2 separate regions of the Homo sapiens genome follow, and region 2 is linked to region 1. Evidence: promoter capture Hi-C in human tissues and cell types (Jung and others, 2019). All regions are on one chromosome and are shown on one strand. The core of a region is centred on a gene start or on the middle of the fragment in contact, and the rest is flanking DNA. Distances in the headings are between cores, read along the strand shown.

Region 1 (6,117 bases), core at 1,349-3,848:
TCTTCCTAGGCTGGGGCAGCCACCTTTTCTGGACTTCCCCATCAAGGCTTTGACCTCTCTGCCTATGATTGCCCCATCACAACCCTCCTCTTTCTGGGTTTGTTCCCTGCTGGACTGTGAATGGTGTGGATGCAGGCCTGAGCTGTCCCAGTCACACTGTGTCCCCAGCACCATCCAGCCTGGGACTGGACAGAAGACCAGGTGCTCACTGAATGTTTGCTGATGGTGAATGAAGACCCGCTCCATTTCTCACCTCTGGTCCTTTGCCCACATTTGTCCCTCTGCCTGGAACCCCCTTCCCTCCTTTTTTCCTTAGCTCCCTCCTCCTCAATCTTCCATTTTGACTTCCTTTTATTATTTATTATTATTTTCTTTTTGAGACAGAGTCTCGCTCTGTCACCCAGGCTGGAGTGCAATGGCGCAATCTTGCCTCACTGTAACCTCTGCCTCCTGGGTTTAAGCAATTCTCCTGCTCAGCCTCCCGAGTAGCTGGGATCACAGGTGCCCGCCACCACGCCTGGCTAATTCAGTTTGACTGCCGATATCACCTCCTGCAGGATCCTTTCCTGAGTTTGCCGCCTCCTCCCTGGGGTGGAGTTAGATCTGTTGATGTCCCCTGTGCCCAGCAAAAGACCTACCACTAAACAGGGCTTGTGAGTGTTTGTTGAATGAATATAGGAACAAAAGAATGTTTGCGTGAATCAATGAAGGAGAGAGACTGCAATGAAGTGAGGGTCTCCTCAGGCCCATCGGGAGCCCCGACCATACCATCCCTTCTACCCCTCCTGGGAGGAGGGCTCTGGCTGGCTTCTGGCCACACCCCAATGCTTGGTTGCTGCCAGGCCTGGAAGGCATTTCCCAGAGCTCAGCACATTCCTGCCTTCCCCGGTGGCTGAGAGTGGGCAGGGGGCATTTCAGAGAGAAGGGAGGGAGGCCCCCAGCATTCCGGGATCCTGCCATCCTGGCCTGGTCCCCCACGCCCTCTGAAGTAGGCCCCAACCCTCTGGTGTGAGATGGGGGACAGGTCTGCAGAGGGGCCACCCAGGCTGGTGTGAGGGGCGAGGGTGCCGACAGAGGCCAGGGCTTGGTGTCTGTGCCTGGCTGGACAATGGGGCAGAAGCTGCTGACATGCGCTTTGGGGGTAATCCCCCAGCCTCAGCCCAGCCCAGGCCTGGGGCCTGGGTTCAGAGAGCGACGAGCTTCCGAGGCAGCAGCCGGGTGGGTTCAAGTGGCATGTGGGGGTACCTGTGCTCCCTGTGCCGCCCCCCGGGGTCTGGTGAGTCAGGGCAGGCTGGGGGCTGGACCAGGGTCCAGGGGTTGGGGGTGAGGCCTGGTAGCTTTGGCTTGGGAGTCGGGCAGGTCTGGGTTCAACTCTGGACCCCTGCCAATGACCTGCTATGGTGATATTGGGAGAGTCACTTACCTTCTCTGAGCCTTCTGGTCTGCAAAGTGGAAGGGGCAGAAGAGTGTAGCAGGGTTTTTGTGGTCCAGGAGAACAGGGGTTGGACCTCAGCTTCACCACCTCCTGGCCACATAGCTATAAATTGGGCATAGCTGGACGCGGTGGCTCACGCCTGTAATCCCAGAACTTTGGGAGGCCGAAGTGGGAAGATCGCTTGAGCCCAGGAGTTCGAGACCAGCCTGGGCAACATGGTGAAACTTTGCCATTACAAAAAATACAAAAATTAGCTGGGCATGATGATGCATACCTGTGGTCCCAGCTATTTGAGGGGGCTCAGTCGGGAGGATTGCTTGAGCCCAGGAGGTGGAGGCTGCAGTGAGCCATGATCACACCACTGCACTCCAGCCTGGGCAACAGAGTGAGACCTTGTCTCAAAAAAAAGGGTGGGGAGCATAAGGAGCCCATTTTACACCCTTGATTCAAAAGCAGGGCTTCAGCACTGAGCATGGTACTTAGTATGTGATAGGTGTCCCCCTAAACAGTAACTCCATTAGACAGAGAACTGGGGGTCCCCTGTGCCCAGCCTTACTGAAAAGGGGCCAAAACCCCCCAGCAAGATGAGCCAGCCACCTAATTTGTGTGAAAAATAATACCAAATACTTATTAGTAACCCTCATTATGTGCCCGGCATTGTCTTACATTTTCAGTCTCTTTTAACTCGTTTAATCTTCACCACAGCCCCATAAGGTGGGTACTCTTACTATCCGCAAAGAGAAGCTGTGACTGGCAGCAGGTCACCCAGCGAGGAAGTGGTCGCGCTGCGATTTGAACCCAAGTTGACAGGGAGAGGGAGTGAAAGGAGTTTACAGTAGAGGCAGTTGGCCAGGCCCGGGTCCTGGAGCCAGGAAACAGTGGGGCTGGGGTGGGGTCCTGATTCTCCAAGTCGAGGAAGCCAACGTGCAAATCCTTGAAGCTGAGCTCATGGCAGAGATCTCGGCCCAGGCAAGAGAGAGGCGGCTGGTGGCTGTCCCGTGGCCCCCACCCCTTGGGGATAGATGTAGCTGGAGGAGGGGGATGTTTGTTTCTCCACCACCCACCCTCTGGTGACGTCACACCCCCGCAGCCAATGGCTGGGGTCTCTCTCTCCTCCCCCCTCCCCATTCCTTTTCCCCCCCAGCCTAGGGCTAGGGCTGACAGACGGGACCAGGAGCTCTCGAGGTGTCTGGAGGCTCAGCGGTAAGAGATCAGCCGGCCGGTCCCTTCCCTGGCCAGGCTGAGACACTGTGGGAATGAGGTTCAGGGTCCCGGGAGGTGCTGGGAGGGGGCCTGGGGGCTCAGGAAGCCGTGTGGTGTAGGTGTTAAAGGTATAGACTTTGGAGCTGGTGGTTCAAATCCCCTTTCCTCTCCTTTCTGGCTGTGCAGCCTTGGGCAAGATACTTCATCCTTTGTGCCTCTGTTTCCCCATCTCTAAAATGGGCTGATGTCTGGAGGCCACCTCACAGGGCTGGTGCCGAGTAAATGAGTTGCTGCTTTTAAAGAGCTAGGGCAGCCAGGCATGGTGGCTCATGCCTATAATCCCAGCACTTTGGGAGGCTGAGGCGGCAGGACTGCTTAAGCCCAGGAGTTCGAGACCAGCCTGGGCCACATAGAGAGGCCCCCATCTCTACAAAACAAAAAAAAATTTTTTTTAATTAGCTGGGCATGGTGGTGCATGCCTGTGGTTCCAGCTACTCTGGAGGCTGAGATGGGAGATTGGGTTGGGCCCAGGAGGTTGGGGCTGCAGTGAGCCGTGATCACACCTCTGCACTCCAGTCTCAGTGACAGAGGGAGACCCTGTCTCCAAAAAACAAACTAACAAACACCAGAGCTGGGGCAGGAGGCCTGGGGTGGGTCCCTGGAGTAGGGTGCTAGGGAGGCAGCATGGATCCTGTTGGGAGGCTGGTGCCTGAGCTGGGTTTTGTCTCTCAGCCAAAGCTCCCCTTTGGTAGCAGAGAAAGTGGGGGCCACTGAGGAGCAAAGGTTGGATGTGCAACACTGTGAGAAGCACAGCTCCCTCCCTCCATACTCTCCCTGTTGCTGTCAGAGACGAGTTTATATTAATCAAGCATTTACTATACAGGAGGGATATTCTAAGCACCTGCTGTTCTCTCACAAATCTTCAAAGCCTTTCTTATTGGCTCCATTTTACAGATGGAGAAACTGAGGCCCCAGAGATGAAGGATCTTGCCCAAGTCCTCACACCTGGGAAGTGCTGGAGCAGGGACTAACCGAGGCAGCCAGAGGCCACTGCCTTAACTCCCCCTGACCCCCTAGGTGGCCTCAGATAATGTTTAGAGGTCTGGATGAGTCAGCCCAACCCCTGACCCCCATTGCTATGAGAGATCACGCTGGTGGCGGGGGAAAGCTGAGGCTCTGAGCAGGCAGGGTTCCCAAGTGAAGTTGGTGGCAGTCACCAGGGAAAGAGGGCCAGAAGGGCAATGCCCTCAGCCGATCCCTCAGCAGCCTCCGAATGACAACCCCTCGCTCCCAGCTGCTCTGAAGGGCATAAGTCGCATCTGAAATGGATATCTCAGTTGTACCCACTCCAGGGAGATGTTACAAAGATTTAAGGAGCCAAGACAGGAAGGATCTTAGCACACAGTAGGTGCTCAAGAAATGGGGACCCTGGGGATTCTGAAAGTTCTGGCATATGCCAGGGTCATGCCACAGTAACTACCCAAGAAATAGGCTGCTGGCATCTGGAGTGTCTGCCTGGTCCCAGTGGATCTGCCTCTAACACAAGGCAGGGACCCTCCCCAGGAGCCTCCCCACCCCTCTTTCCCCTGCCTAGTGGGATAGGCAGAGCTGGGAACACAGAGTCCTCTCTGTGGGTTTCCTTCCGAAGCTGCCCCCACCTTACCCCAGGGGCTGGGTACGTGGCTCAGGAAGAGCACAGTTGGGCTAAATATAACCTGGGCTGGGTGCCTGTCCAGGCAGGGACGAAGAAGGAGGGCACTCTCTCTTGTCCCTGCCCCGCCTGAACTTCCTGTGCCAGGCTCCGGGCATGACCCTCACAGCCACGGGCCTGGGACAGAGAGCTGATGACCCAGGAGACCCCCTCTACTACCACCTACAAGGTTCAGGCTTCTCGTGTCCCCAGCTCAGGACTCTGTGCTGTGTATCAGTCCTGGGTAAGGGAACTGAGTTCGCTTTCACACCTGGGCTCAAGTCTCGACTCTGTCACTGTGATCACCGGTCTCTTAACTCTCATTGACTCATCAGTTAAATGGGGTCCCACAAGGTCAAGTATGTAAAGCGCCTGCCCGGTCCAGGCCCGGCACCTGGCCTGGGTGTGTTTCTAGCACCGTTGGCCCCCTCCTGCCCAACCCAGCTCCTGCCCCAGTGCGCAGAGCCACCAATGCAAATTAAGGTGAAGCAGGGGTGAAGGGCAGGCACGGGTCCTAGCTCTGCCCCTTTCTGGCTGGGTGACCCCTCTGTGAGCCTCAGTTTCCACCCCATAACAGCCACAACATCTAGGGTGATTTTGAGGCCTGTGGGTGCTAGCACAGGGCCCAATTCAGAGGAAATGCCCCAGACATGGCAGACAAGGTCTTAGTGCAGGGACCAGCTAATATTAATACTAACCACTCAATACCCATCAGTTGTTATTATGATTGTCCAGCTAAAGCGCTGGAGCTTTTTTTATTTTTATTTTTATTTTTTTGAGATGGAGTCTCGCTCTATCGCACAGGCTGGAGTGCAGTGGTGCATTCTCAGCTCACCACAACCTCCGCTTCCCAGGCTGAAGCGATTCTCCTGCCTCAGCCTCCCGAGTAGCTGGGATTACAGGCGCGCGCTGCCACGCCTGGCTAATTTTAGTATTTTTAGTAGAAACGGGGTTTCACCATATTGGCCAGACTGGTCTCGAACCCCTGACCTCGTGATCCACCCACCTCGGCCTCCTAAAGTGTTGGGATTACAGGCCTAAGCCACGCGCCCAGCCCGTGCTGGAGTTTTTAGACAAGTTCAAGTCCTGGCACAGCCTGGAAGGTGTAGGGGGCTCACAGGGGATCCCAGGGAAGGCCACAGAGACCAGGACCCCCTAGGAGATGCAGAGAGAAGCCCTCTTACACTGTGGGGGGCGTGGGTGCTGTGGGAGTGTTAAGGGGTCCCCATGTCCTCTCTCCTGGCCACTGATGGGCTATGAAAGGCCATTGTGTGGCCAGGGTGGGTGGGCAGGGGCGGAATGCAACTGAGCACAGCAGACGGGCCATTGTGTGAGGGAATGTGCCGCGTGAGGCCTGACCTTTCCCTGTGCAATAGGGGTTGGCGGGTTGGCATGCCAGGTGGGGGCTGTGAGGACAAGCCCAGAGTCGGGGGTTGGGGGAGAGAGTATTCATCTCCATTTCCCCAGATGGGCCTGGCGGGTGGCTGCATGTGAATTTCAGCTTTGCCTCCTTCTGGCTGTGCTATGAGGCCTTGAGCAAGTTCTTTTGGCCTCTCAGGAAATGGGGTTTTCCGAGGTGAAGTAGAAGGTGAAGGTCTTAGCACGGGGGCCAGCAAATACTAATCACTCAGTACCCATCAGGTATTATTACTACCCAGATAAAGGGCTGGAGCCTTCAGACAAATTCAAGTCCTGGCTCGACCATTTGTGACCTGGGCTAGTGACATCCCTTCCCCCAGCCTCAGGTGTCTCCTCTGTAATGGGCTCAGTAGTAGCTGATTGCACAAGG
Region 2 (6,117 bases), core at 2,063-4,562, 230 kb before region 1:
GCTGGGATTGCAGGCAGGATCATTTCATCTGGCTCGATTCTGAGTTTTGAAAAATTCGTAAGTCATGTAATCACCACAGTCTGCATTCATGACAGTTTTATTACTTCAAAAATTCTCTTGGGCTTTGTAGACAAGCATAGTTGGTTTTTGTATCTGCATTTATTGTTCTAATGGGAGGAAAAGCAATCGTGGGAGGTTGTTTAAGGCCTGAAGTTATTCAAGATTGGGCGGGAGTCCACCAGCAAAAGCCCAGGATTAGGCAGGAGGAGACCTGGGCTCCAGGCTTGCTCTTCCACTTGGGCCTTCCTCTCTCTGAGCCTCAGCTTCCCCATCTGTAAGATGGGTATGTGAAAACCCCAAGAGTTAACAAAGGCATCCAGGAAGCTCTCAACTGTGGCAGCTCTTTCTTTCTTCTACTTTTTTTTTTTTTTTTTCGAGATGGAGTTTTGTTCTTGCTGCCCAGGCTAGAGTGCAGTGTTGTGATCTCGGCTTACTGTGATCTCTGCCTCCCGGGTTCAAGCGATTCTCCTGCCTCAGCCTCCCGAGTAGCTGGGATTACAGGCATGTGCCACCACACCCGGCTAATTTTGTATTTTTAGCAGAGATGGGATTTCTCTATGTTGGTCAGACTTGTCTCGAACTCCCGACCTCAGGTGATTAGTCCACCTCGCCCTCCCAAAGTGCTGGGATTACAGGCGTGAACCACCGCGCCCGGCCCTCTTCCTTCTTTATTTACAGCTCTGAGGCCGAGTCATCCCAACCCAGGCACTAGCCCTGCACAGAGCAGCCAGCCCTCCTGGTCGCCTGCCCGCTGCTCCCCCACAGACAACCTGACAGTGTTCCGCGCTTTATTTTAAATTATTTTTTATTTTTGGAGACAGGGTCTTACTCTGCTGCCCAGGCTGGAGTGCAGTGGCATGATCACGGCTCACCTCAGATCTCCTGGGATCCAGCGATCCTCCCACCTCAGCCTCCTAAGTAGCCTTGGGAGTACAGGTGGGTGCCACCATGCCTGGCTAATTTTTAATTTTTTGTAGAGACAGGGGTCTCACTATGTTGCCCAGGCTGATCTCGAACTCCTGGGATTAAGCCAGCCTCCCACTTTGGCCTCCCAAAGTGCTGGGATTAGAGATATGAGCCACCACACCCAGCCTATGTTCTGTGTTTTCTACCTTCAATAGCACTCAAATTCTCCCCTTCCCTTGGCGGGGCGTAGTGGCTCACACCTGTAATCCCAGCACTTTGGGAGGTTGAGGTGTGCGGATCACTTGAGGCCAGGAGTTCAAGACTAGCCTGGCCAACATGGCAAAACCCTGTCTCTCCTAAAAATACAAAAAATTAGGCCAGACGTCGTGGCTCATGCCTGTAATCCCAGCACTTTGGGAGGCCGGGGCAGGTGGATCGCTTGAGGTCAGGAGTATGAGACCAGCCTGGCCAATATGGTGAAACCCCGTCTCTACCAAAAATATTAAAAATTAGCTGGGTGTGAGGGTGCGTGCCTGTAATCCCAGCTACTTGGGAGGCTGAGGCAGGAAAATCCCTTGAACTCGGGAGGCAGAGGTTGCAGTGAGCAGAGATCGTGCCATTGCACTACAGTCTTGGAGACAGACTGAAACTCTGTCTCAAAAAAATATAATAAAATAAAATTATCTCCTTCCCCAATCCACAGTCCCCAGGGCCTGCGCCTCCCAGATTCTCCATGGCCCTGTCCATCTCCGCTGCCTGGGTCCCTGCCCGGCCGGCCTCCTCCCTGGACTCCAGCCTGCCCTTATGTCTCCCATGACCCACTCCCACCCAGCCACCCACAAGCACTTTCTAAATCTGACCACAGACCCCCATGTCTCAAAGGATAACTCGAGGCCTGCCAAGCGCCTCCCTTCCCCATAGGACAAAATTATTGCCAGTAATAATCAGGAAATGAAATGAACAATATTAATAGTCAGAAAAGAAATGTAAACAGTGGAGATTTTCTTTTCTTGAACCTCATATACGTAAAGTCTGCCAGTAAAAATTAAATTTAAAAGTAAACATTACAGTACTAAAAAAAAAAAGAAAGAAAAATAGCACTACTATTTATTCAAAGTTTATTGAAAAATTCGAAGTTGGAACTTGGGTTTTTGGGTTACAGTCTGATATAAAATTGTTATGTAAATAGTTGTGAGTTTTTTTCTTCTTGAGGAGAGAGAGACTGGGAGGGAGGGAGGAAACAGGAAGAGAGACAGACAGAGAGACAGACACAGAGTGAGACACAGTTGACCCCTTCACATGGGGCCCTGGGCACTTAGAATTCACCCTGCAAAGCCCCCCCGAAGTCAGGACTTGGTGTGGGGTGTTGCAGAAATGTTTCCTCCCCCTGCCCGGGCTCCGCTGGGAAGCCACGTCCCCCACCCCTGCCCTTCCTCCCACCCACAGCCTGCCTTCTCTCTGGGGACCTCTGTGGAGCTGCCTGGAACATGCGTGGGGTGACATGCATAGCAAGCTGGGGGAAGCAACCAAGGTGGTGGCCAGGCCCCTTGAAGACATAAAAGCACATTGCATTGGGAGGGAGGGACCCCGGGGGGCTGAGAATGTCCTGTTGCTTAAACTGGATGGAGGGGACACTGGGTGGTGGGTGCAGCTCCTCGTTTTCAGCAGTGGTTTCTTGAAGTAGACCCATATTCAGGAAAGTACAAACCGTAAGTGTAACCGCTGGAGGAATTATCACCGATTGAACACACCTGTGTCACCAGCCACCAGCCCAAGAAGCAATATCTCCAGCCCCCCAGAAGCCCCCTCGGCGCTCCCTTATCACCTGCCCTCCCTCCAAGGTCATTATCACCCTCACTTCTGACAGCATAGATTGGTTGTGCCTGTTTTGAATTCATGTAAATGCAATCTGAAAATATGTTCTTTTTAGCATCTGGCTTTTTTCAGTCAGCACCGTGAAAAAAATTCATCCTGGTTGTCGTGTGCAGTTACAGGTTATTCTCATTGCAGCACACACACATTGCAGGCCACTGTGGGATCAGTTTATCCATTCTTCTGCTGGTGGTGAGGGACTGAGCCAAGGGGGCCAGGCGCGGTGGCTCACACCTGTAATCCCAGCACTTTGGGAGACTGAGGTAGATGGATCACTTGAGATCAGCAGTTCGAGACCAGCCTGGCCACATGGTGAAACCCCGTCTCTACTAATAATACAAAAATTAGCTGGGGGTGGTGGCGGGTGCCTGTAGTCCCAGCTACTCGGGAGGCTGAGGCAGGAGAATTGCCTGAACCTGAGAGGAGGAGCTTGCTGTGAGCCGAGATCGTGCCACTGCACTCCAGTCTGGGCAACAAGAGTGAAAAAACTCCGTCTCAAAAAAAAAAAAAAAGAGAAACTGAACCTAGTGGAAAGAGTCCCCTAGGCAGAGGGAACAGCCAGTGCCAAGGTCCTGGGGTGGGATGGGAACATGTCTGGATCTTAGAGAAACAACAAGGAGATCCGTGTTGCTGCAGAGGAGCGTGTGGGGGGTGGAGGGGAGGTGAGGTCAGAGAGGGAACAAGAAGCAGACGGTGCAGAGTCTGCTGGACCACAGTGAGGACTTTGGCTCTTACTTTGAATGAGATTGGCGGAACACAGTGGCTCAGGCCTGGAATCCCAGCATTTTGGGAGGCCGAGGTGGGTAGATAAGTTGAGCCCATAAGTTCAAGACCAGCTTGGGCAATAAGGGAGGCCTCGTCTCTATCAAAAAATTGGCTGGGTTGTGGTAGCCCTGGAGGCCTGGAGGATGGCTTGAGCCGAGGAAGTCTAGGCTGCAGTGAGTCATGACTTGCACCACTGCACTCCAGCCTGGGCAACAGAGTGAGACCCTGTCTCAAAAAAAAACAAAAAAAAAATGAGCAAAATAATCTTTGAGTGAGATGGAGCCACAGGAAAGTTTTGAGCAGCAGAGGGAGTTGAGTTGACTTGGTTATTCCCAGAGTCCCTCTATCTGCATGACGGGGAGAGATTGTGGGGCCAGGAGTAGGAACTCCAAACCCTAGGAGGAGGGTAAGATATGGGTGGCAGCTATGGAGGTGGTAAGAAGTATTTGGCCTCTGAATACATTTTTTCTTTGTTTGTTTTTGAGAGGGAGTCTCACTCTGTCACCCAGGCTGGAGTGCAGTGGTGCAATCTGAGCTCACTGCAACCTCCACTTCCTGGATTCAAGCAATTCTCCTACCTCAGCCTCCCAAGTAGCTGGGATTACAGGCGTGCACCACAATGCCTGGATAACTTCTTCTTCTTTTTTTTTTTTTTTTTTTTTGTATTTTTGGTAGAGATGGGGTTTCACCATGTTGGCCAGGCTAGTCTCAAACTTGTTGCCTCAAGTGATCCGTCTGCCCCAGCCTCACAAAGTGCTGGGATTACAGGTGTGAGCCACCATACCTGGCCCTGAATACATTTTTTGTGTATGTGATTAATGATGTATTTTATTTACTTCTACCATTTTGCTTTGTGATTCTAGTGTCCTCATTTTTCTACGTTTATTTATTTTTTCATGCTCATTTAAGCTTCTTTGAATTGGCTGCATTTTTTGTTTAGTTTTGTCTTATGTTTTCTTATTCTTTGTTTTCCCTCTACTAGTTTGGAATCTATGCACCATTTCTTTCTTTTTGTAGCAATCTTTGAAATTTTAACATGCTTTTTTTTTTTTTTTTTTTTTTGAGGCAGGGTCTTGCTCTGTTGCCCAGCCTGCAGTGCAGTGGTGAGATCCTAGCTCGTTGCAGGCTGGAACTCCTGGTCTCAATGGATCCTCCCTCCTCAACCCCCTGTGTAGCTGGCACTACAGGTGTACAAGACCACACCCACCTAATATTTTTATTTTTGTAGAGACAGGGTCTAGCTATGTTGTCCAGGTTGATCTCCAACTCCTGGGCTCAAGTGATCCTCCCACATTGGCCTCCCAAAGTCCTAGGATTATAGGCATGAATTACTGTGCCTGGCCATGCACATTTTTAAAAATCAGGTCTATTTCTATTGGAGGACAGAAATTTAAAAAATCAAGTCTAGGCTAGGCGCAGTGGCTCACGCCTGTTATCTCAGCACTTTGGGAGGCCGAGGAGGGCAGATCATGAGGTCAGGAGTTCGAGATCAGCCTGGCCAATATGGTGAAACCCCGTCTCTACTAAAAATACAAAAATTAGCCAGGTGTGGTGGCGCACACCTGTAGTCCCAGCTACTCAGGAGGCTGAGGCAGAAGAGTCGCTTGAACCTAGGAGGCGGAGGTTACAGTGAGCCGAGATGACGCCACTGCACTCCAGCCTGGGCGACAGAGCAACACTCTGCCTCAAAAAAAAAAAAAAGAAAAAATCAAGTTTAAAATCTAATATTTTCAACATCACACCAAACAGTACCTGGAGCACAGAGCATGTTGTTTTTGATCTCCCCAATCCTACTTATAATGATAGTGTTGTCTAAGATTTTATTTTATTTCATATTATTTTTGAGTTGGAGTCTTGCTCTGTTACCCAGGGTGGAGTGCAGTGGCGCCATCTCGGCTCACTGCAACCTCCGCTCCCCAGGTTCAAGCGATTCTCGTGCCTGAGTAGCTGAGATTACAAGCACCTCCCACCATGCCCAGCTGATTTTTGTATTTTTAGCAGAGACAGGTTTTCACCATATTGGCCGGGCTGGTCTCCAACTCCTGACCTCATGTGATCCACCTGCCTCAGCCTCCCAAAGTGCTGGGATTACAGGTGTGAGCCACCACGCCTGGCCTAAGATTTTAGATCTCTCAATTTTAGAAAGTGTTTTAACTTTTCCTTTGGAAATAATTTCAAATTTACCAAAAAGTTGCAAGACAAATAATAGGACAAAGAACTCTCTTGTATTTTATACTCAGGTTCATGGATTGGTAACATTTCTACCTCATTTCCTTTATCACTTGCTCTCTTCTCTGTTATGTATTTTCTTTTTCTGATTTTTAAAAAAATCTTTGAGGCTAAGTTACAAACAACATCACCCCTAAAAGCTTCTATAATGGGCTGGGCACGGTGGCTCATGCCTATAATCTCAGAACTTCGGAAGGCCAAGGCAGGCGAATCATCTGAGGTCAGAAGTTCGAGACCAGCCCAGCCAAGATGAAGAAACCTTGTCTCTACTAAAAATACAAAAAT

The links. The method cuts DNA at HindIII sites, captures the fragments that hold promoters and counts their contacts. A contact is called where the count stands out against the background at its distance.
Region 2: a contact is called between a fragment that was not itself captured here and the fragment with the promoter of PRX in region 1, in 3 of the 25 tissues and cell types used here (IMR-90 fibroblasts, hippocampus and liver).

The regions. Positions count from the first base shown.
Region 1 is chr19:40,409,859-40,415,975 of GRCh38, reverse strand. PRX (periaxin) reads left to right here and starts at 2,598. Exons shown (of 7, transcript NM_181882.3): 1 at 2,598-2,638. RefSeq lists enhancers at 1,140-1,788, 5,305-5,896, 5,809-5,978, 5,897-6,117. The HindIII fragment of the contact is 14,641 bases long and covers 1-6,117 here.
Region 2 is chr19:40,637,164-40,643,280 of GRCh38, reverse strand. No RefSeq gene overlaps it. Among named protein-coding and RNA genes, the nearest start is that of LTBP4, 39 kb to the right of the region's middle. The HindIII fragment of the contact is 3,860 bases long and covers 1,383-5,242 here.